Linked DNA regions of Homo sapiens: region 1 is linked to region 2. The links are contacts of gene promoters, found by promoter capture Hi-C in human tissues and cell types (Jung and others, 2019). All regions are on one chromosome and are shown on one strand. Each heading gives the region's core, a stretch centred on a gene start or on the middle of the fragment in contact. The rest is flanking DNA. Distances are from core to core; before and after follow the strand shown. Region 1 holds the start of ACR (acrosin). Region 2 holds the start of KLHDC7B (kelch domain containing 7B).

What was found. The method cuts DNA at HindIII sites, captures the fragments that hold promoters and counts their contacts. A contact is called where the count stands out against the background at its distance.
Region 1: the fragment with the promoter of ACR here is called in contact with the fragment with the promoter of KLHDC7B in region 2 in 2 of the 25 tissues and cell types used here (H1 embryonic stem cells and dorsolateral prefrontal cortex).

What each region holds. Positions count from the first base shown.
Region 1 is chr22:50,736,010-50,739,756 of GRCh38, reverse strand. ACR (acrosin) reads right to left here and starts at 1,553. Exons shown (of 5, transcript NM_001097.3): 1 at 1,445-1,553; 2 at 283-486; 3 at 1-63. The coding sequence starts at 1,521. It overlaps LOC105373100 (a long non-coding RNA gene), which reads left to right and starts at 1,588. Exons shown (of 2, transcript NR_134637.1): 1 at 1,588-2,367; 2 at 2,653-3,747. RefSeq lists an enhancer at 1-56. The HindIII fragment of the contact is 13,172 bases long and covers 1-3,747 here.
Region 2 is chr22:50,543,849-50,547,394 of GRCh38, reverse strand. KLHDC7B (kelch domain containing 7B) reads right to left here and starts at 1,496. Exons shown (of 1, transcript NM_138433.5): 1 at 1-1,496. The coding sequence starts at 1,151. It overlaps KLHDC7B-DT (KLHDC7B divergent transcript), which reads left to right. Exons shown (of 4, transcript NR_199716.1): 2 at 927-1,021; 3 at 2,000-2,608. RefSeq lists a silencer at 2,881-3,175. The HindIII fragment of the contact is 12,740 bases long and covers 1-1,869 here.

The DNA of each region.
Region 1 (3,747 bases), core at 304-2,803, 190 kb before region 2:
GGTTTATTGTTCCCATATGTAATTTCCTTTGCTCCGAAAACCAGTCTCCAGTCATGCACATTACTGTGGGCACAAAGGTAAGCCAGGTCACAACCGGCTGGACAAAAGCCTGGTGACAGCGACCCTCAGGGCCTTCCCCTAGCAAAGGTCTGGACCAGCCCCCGGAGTCTTGCAGCCACTTGGCCCAGAGCCCCAGGGAGACGCTGCACAGCATCCCCGGGGAACGCCCCTCTCTGAGAAGAGCCGTTCTGAAGACCTCCCTCAGTGCATCCCTACACGTACTTTTTGCCGACGAAGCAGTGAGCAGCAGTGAGCACCCATCGTGAATTCAGCAAGCTGCCTCCACATGTGTGGTACCTGTGGCTGTTGTACGTGAAGATCTGGAGGCTGACCATCCAGGGCCAGGCCCCATGCTGTGCAGCCTTCCCGCCGACGATGCGGACACCACCCTGTGGGTTTTGCCTGAACCGTAACCCACAGGGGCCACTGGGGAGAGACCAGAGCACAGTTCAAACCTGGCATGAGCACAGCCTGTCCTTGTAACTCCACAACTGAGGGGAGGCAGGGACATGGGGTTGGGAAAAGTGGGGAAGAGCTTCCGGGTTCTGGGAAAGCAGGGGCAGCCTGCGCTATGTAGGAAGCCGCAGGCTCTAGGAAATGGTTCTGGGGCCACGACTTCTCAGGTCTTGTGGGTGCAGTCACAGATGGAGAAAGAGGAGGCCATAGGAAGCCAGGACAGGCTGCATGGGCCCTGAGGGATGGCCCGTCCCTGGGCAGAACAGGAGGGTAGAGGTGGGGATGCGGGGCCTGGGGACAGAGGGGTGTAATGGCCTGAGGTCCTTATAACCAATCTTGGGTGGGAGACTCAGGGAAGTCAGGTGATGAAGGGGGTCGTTGACAGTGATGGGAGGAGGGATAGCAGCCAGGGGCAGATACTGTGGCCCACAGGTGTAGGGGGCACACTGAGAGCAGTGGAGGTCTAGAGGTGGAGGCTCTGGGAACTGTGTCACGGGTGGGAGGCCACATATAGCTTGGGAGGTGTTGGTATTTCGGGGTACCTTGGAGTGAGAGAGCCTACTGGGGGGTAGGGGTGCAAGCGGTGTGAAGCGATGATATCCTGGGGCTGTTGGGGGCAACCACGGGTTGGGACAGCTGTCTGTGGGGGGATAAGGGCTCCCAAAATCAGGACTTCATGTCTTCAAGACAGTGGGGTCAGTCCCTGGGGGAGTGGGAGAGGCACAAGGAGCCTGAGGTGCTGAGGGGTCCATCTCTGGAGGAAACCACGAAAGCTGAGGGTCTGGGGGCTCCAGGCTGCTGATTCTGGGAGCAGGGGGGGTCCAGGTTAGGGATGCAGCCTCCTTTTCCCTAGCCCTGGACAGAGGGAGTCGGGGTGGTACCTGCTCCTCAGAAGATCCTTCCCCCACCAAGGTGCCCCGACACTTACTCACACGTGGCGTTATCTTTAGCAACCACGGACACTGCCAAGACCAGCAGAATGGCAGTTGGTAGCATCTCAACCATACTCCTGGCACTGCCTGGCCTGCAAGCCTAGTGACCTCACAAAGCTCCGTGGCTGCCTGGCCAATCAGCAGGGGTGACCCCCACCCCACCCCCAGCAGTCAGGCCAGGTAAGAGCCCCTCGCCTTAACTGGTTTGTGCTGAAGAGACTTCTTGACTTCCTGCATAGGCTCCCCCACCACCAGGATGATGGGGGACTCCTGTGCAGCCCCACTCCCTCTGTCCCAAGGCCAGGATCTCCATTCCCAGTAACTCTTGCGAGGTCCCCACATCACCCAAGGCTCTGGCTTTGTGCAGGTTCAGAGTCTGCCTCTCATGCGTGCTGTGACCACTGCAGACTCACAGACTGAGGAGCGGCTCAGCCCTTCAGTGATGAGACGGTGCAACATGTTTGTGGATCAGAGGAGTCAGGGTCAGCAGATTAATTGATCCTTAATTGTTGTTGGGGAAGTTTTCTTTTCCTCTTCCAAGTGAATGCTATCAACACACTTTTCCAAGAGTCATTTTGAATTTTCCTAATTTACAACTGCAAAGCCCACCTTCCTGTCCGTTGCTGAATATCACAAGGTCTCCTATTATCCTGAATGTCTCCAGATCGGCTTTCTGTGACTGAGGTGGAGCAAGGTGTTTTCTCCTATACTTGAATGTCAAGAGTTTTCATACAGCTACCTGAATATCATGAAGCATCATTTTTCCCATCTGATCATCAGGAACTAGCATCTCACCTACCAGAGTGTGACAAATGCTTATTGCAAACACCTGAATGTTAAAACATTTCCCATCGCCTGCAAGTGTCAGGAGGTCACACTCTTACCTGCATGAGGGCAGCCTTACCTCTTCTACCTGAATGTAAGATCTCAACCAGCCCGAGGGTCAATAGGTTGCACATCATCTAAGTGGGTGTCAGAAGGTCCCATGCCTCCAACCTGAGTGTCAGGACATCTCATCTCCTATTCCTGAGTGTTGAGTTTTCAGATTATCAGATGATCTTGATTTATCTATTTTCTCTAACTGAATGTCGTACTTATGACATCCTCAAATGAATGTTCAATAGGTCTCGTATATCTTACCCAGTATCAGGGAGTGATCACCTCCTTCTTTGAAAGAAATAACAACTCTGTTTTTCCACTTCAGTGCCAGAGGCCCTCATCGCCTCCACCTACAGGTTAAGAATTCTCACCTCCACCACCCAAGTGTCACCCTGTCGCACTTTCTCTACCTGAAAATCAAGAGGTCTTACATCTTCCAGCTGAATGTCAAGAGGTTGTATTTTACCTATATGAATGTTCTGAAGTCTCCACCGGTATACCAGAGTGTTGGGAGATCTCATTGCCCCCATCTGGGTGCCAGGGCATGTCCTACCCTCTACTTGAATATAGTCTCATATCCCTGTCTAAATGGCATGGAGCTTTCATCTCCTCTGCTAGAGTATCATGAGATCTCCTCTATTCTGGGTGTCCAAAGTTCTCATCTCAACCCCCTGAGGTCTGGAGGTATTCTCACCTCTTCCTGGTTGTCTGGAGGTCTCATCTCCCTTACCTGAGAGTCATGAAACCTCCTATCTCCTATATGCCCTATCTAAGTCATGACACTTTATCTCCTCCGAGTGTCAGGGGATTTTTCTACCTTTATGTCAGGTAGCCCCACTTCCTCTAGCTGAAGGGCATACAAGTTCTATTTCGTGACTTGAATGTGAATAGGTTTCAGCTGCACTACTGAGTGTTAGCGGACCTCACTTATTTTAACTGAGCATCAAGTTGTGTCTCATAAATAACCAGAAAAAGACTTTGGAAATATGGTTCAAGAAATGGCAAGAAGAATTGAAGAAGTGGGCCCAAGTGCAGAGGCTCATGCCTGTAATCCCAGCACTTTGAGAGGGTGAGGCAGGCAGATCACTTGAGCTCAGGAGCCCCAGACCAGCCTGGGCAACACGGCAAAACCCCGTCTGTACAAAAAATACAAAAATTAGCCAGGTGCAGTGGCACCTGCATCCCAGCTACTCAGAAAGCTGAGGCAGGAGAATCATTTGAACCCAGAAGGCAGAAGTTGCAGTGAGCCGAGATCGCACCATTGCACTCAAGCTTGGGCAATGGGAGTGAAACCCTGTCTCAAAAAAAAAAAAGAAGAAGATTAAAGTTTTGACTGTTAAAGAAAATATTATTCGGGTGTTTTTAATGGATAGCACCTATTTCTTTACAAATATTTAGGAGGTATCAATAAAAAAGTCTG
Region 2 (3,546 bases), core at 247-2,746:
CTGTTATCTCGGGAGCTGTCAGCCCCGGCCTCGCCGGCATCGTAGGCCCCTGTGGCACCCGGCCCTTGGGACGAGAGTGGGCGACCTTGAGGCGGACTCTCTAGCCAGGGGCGCGTGGAGTCTGGGGCTGGGCCAAAGCTCCGGGTGCCCGGGACCTCCCTGCTGACCCAGGGCCAGCCTCCTCCGGGGGCAGGGACCCCCGAGGCCTCCCTGCTCCAGCCACCCTTGGCCCCAGAGCCTTCCGTCTGAGACCCAGGCTGCAGGGCGCGGGGAGCGGGCAGCGCCGGGAGTGCGGGCTCCTGGGCGAGTGGGGGTCCTGTGGGGAGGCCGCGCGCGTGGGCGTCCAGGGCGGCGGCCCCGTCCACCGCGTCCCACACGCTCCCCGCGGCGCCCAGGCGGAGCGGGTCCAGTTTCCGGGGGCGGCGGGCTCTGTCTCCCGAGCCAGCGTCCATCCGCCGCCGCCGGCCCCGGCCTCTCCCCATCGAGCCCGAGGGCCCCGCGCCCGCCTGCCAGGGGCCAGTGTCCTGTTGCCCCGCGGGGCCTGCGGCCTGGCGAGAGGACGCCCTGACACCACCTGTCTCCGCCTCCGCTTCGCTGCCAGGGCTCCGAGGAGTGAAGTGGATCAGGAGGGGGGCGGACATCCCCCCTGCTTCGCTCCTGCCCAGGAGGGCAGTGCCTGGCCTGGGAGGCTCCTTTCCTTCCGCTCGGGGGGCCGCGGGGGTGGCACTGCCCCGTTGCTGTCCTAATGCCTCTCTGCGGGCCTCCTCGACAGCCGTCTTGAGTGGAAGCCGGGCCATGGCGGCCAGGCCCCCGCCCGGCGCTGCAGCAGGGACAGGGCTCTGCTGGCCGCGTCCTGGGGGCTCTGGTTTCCCCTGCCCTGGGCTCTGCCCCTCGCTGCCATCACTGACCTTAGACTTCGGTTGCAGGGCCAGCTCAGCTCCTCCTGCCTGATGAGGTTGAGCCCCGAGGGCTGTGGACACCGGTTCTGCCGCCTCTTGATCGTGCCCGGAGCCAAACCAGTGTAAGGCCAGCGCTGTGGCAGCCACCACAGCCAGCGCCAGGAGGGCCAGCACAGCACTATCCCAGTCATTGTCACTGTCCCAGTCCCAGCCCCAGAGGGGACCATCTGGCTCCAAGGTGCCCTGGATCATGGTTCAGGGCTGCAATAGAGGCCTGATGGCAGGCTGGCAGTGCATGCAGAGCACAGAGGCCTGGGCTGAGGCACCGGCCAGCGCCTGCCCCAAGGGCTGCCCAGTTAAGGTGGACCAGTCCTCCAGGGCCTGGGAATGGTGGGGTCTCTGCTTGCACTCAGGCCTGGGGGTGTCAGTAGGGCCTGGCTGCAGATATCAGGAGACAGCGAGGCTTATGGCAGGATAGGAGCCCAGGGTCTCTGCAAGCACCCCACCAGCTCCTGCCCTCTTCTCCTCCTCGTAGGCCCCAGGGTCCTCAGGCAGCGTTCCTGAGCTCTGTGCTGTCATCACAGCCAACCTGCTTCTGCCTGGTAGACCCTCACACCCCTAAATTTATTCCACACCCCACAGTCCCTCCTCTCAGCCTGGGCCCAGCTTCAGGGGGCTTGGCAGGGAAGGGTTACCCACAGGGAGATGTTATCTCTAGCTCTAGCAATGTGATGTGGCCCTGATGAAATCACCAGAAACCGGAGAGGCTGATTCCACTGTGGGCCAGCAGGGGAGGGGTGGGGGCCGTGCACGGGAGGGTGCAGGCTGTGCCTGACGGTGGTCTCTCAGGCTGAAGAGGGAGACCCTGGACACGGGTCCTGGCAGTGAGCATTATCATTGCAGGGGTGCTGTGGAGGTTTGTACTGGGGCACAGGGAGGGGGCATAGAGAGGAGACTGAGGCTCCCATAGCTCCTCCTCCAGCAGCTTTTGGACTCCTTACTCTGGGTTTACCAGACATGGGATAGGGTTATCAAGTCAAGAGAAAAAAAAAATTAATGGGATAAATAAAATCCAAACATATTTCTCTCTTTATGGCCAGGCTTATTTCAGCCCACCTAGACCTTCTAGGATCTCCTGGACCCCCTGCGCCCATCGAGAGTGTCTTGACTGCCCAGATGAGACTCTCACTGTGCCCCTGGAGAACCCTGAGCCCAGCCTGCCCCCTACTCCAGTTACCGCATCAGCCAGCACCTGGATCCCTTAGAAACCACCCCCCTCTGGCCCCAGGTGCTCTAATAGCCAGACTCTGGGTGTCTTCATCTCAGTCCTCAGCCTTCCCTTATCTGAGCTGAGGACTCGCCCTCGAGACCACATCCTGGCTGGTACCTCCTAGCCCTGGCTCAGGCCGGCATGTAGGTACTTCTGTTGGATGTGAGCACTTGCTTCCTGAGGGAGAAGCCTGGGCTCCTCCACCTGCTCCTTGCTTAATCCCATCTCAGGAGTGTCTCGGGCCAGGTGCCAGGTGAGGCTCAGACAAGAAAAAGAGCCTGGAGTCCCTGGGACAAAGGCAGGGCTCCCTGGAAAGTACCGTGTGTATTTTTCCTTCCTCTGGGACACAGCAGGCCTGGGGATTTCTCCCTTACTCAAGCAGCAAGGAGATGGCCTAGGAGTGTCCCTGGCACCCAGCCTGAACCCTACTGAGCCTCAGGTAACTCACCTCCCAGCTCCCCCTGGGACTATTAGATGACAGGGAGAGGGTGAGGGTGGGCCCCATGCCTTAAGGTGGACCTCAAGTTGAGGGAAGGCTTTCTAGACCGTGCCCTTATTCTCTGTCCCAGTCTCAGGCTCTGCCTCTTGGTTAAGTTTGGGGTCCAGAAACCTTCAGAGGATGGAGATGACACCCATAAATATTAGAGACTGAGTAGGGGGCGGGAAGCGGTGGCGGCAGCGCACCCCCGGGGTGCAACTGCCCTGGAACTCCAAGTGGTGGCTTCAAAACTGGATTAAAATTTATTTCCGCGAAACCCTGGAGTCACGGTCCGGCGCCGACTGGCGTTTTCTGCCGTAGACTGAGAACGCGTCAGGGATGGCTCCGTTGGCAGCGCGCGCGAGCGCCCCCGGGCCGCGCCTGGAGGGTTGACAGCGACTCGCGGGCGAACTGTGAACCCGCAGCCCCTGGGCTCCGAGCGCAAACCTGGCGACTGGGAGGGCCCGGGGAGCGGGTGAGCCAGCGCCAGCCCCGCCGGCCCCAGGAGCGCGAATTTCTCTACATTTCCGGCTGTGGCCGCAGTTGGAGGATGGGATCAAAACGGGCAAAAAAGTGCGACCTGGGCCGAGGTGTCGGATCGCCTCGAGGTGGGAGGCCGAGGTGTTGGATCGCCTGAGGTCAGCAGTTCGAGACCAGCCTGGCCGACAGGGAGAAACCCTGTCTTTACCGAAAATAGAAAAATTAGCCGGGCGTGGTGGCGGGCGCCTGTAATCCCAGCTACTCCAGAGGCTGAGGCAGGAGAATCGCTTGAACCCGGGGAGTTGCAGTGAGCCGAGATCGCGCCACTGCACTCCAGCCTGGGTGACAGAGCCAGACTCCATCTCAAAAAAAAGAAAAAAAGACACCAGCAAAGGGTTTTTTTCTGTTAATAACTAGGT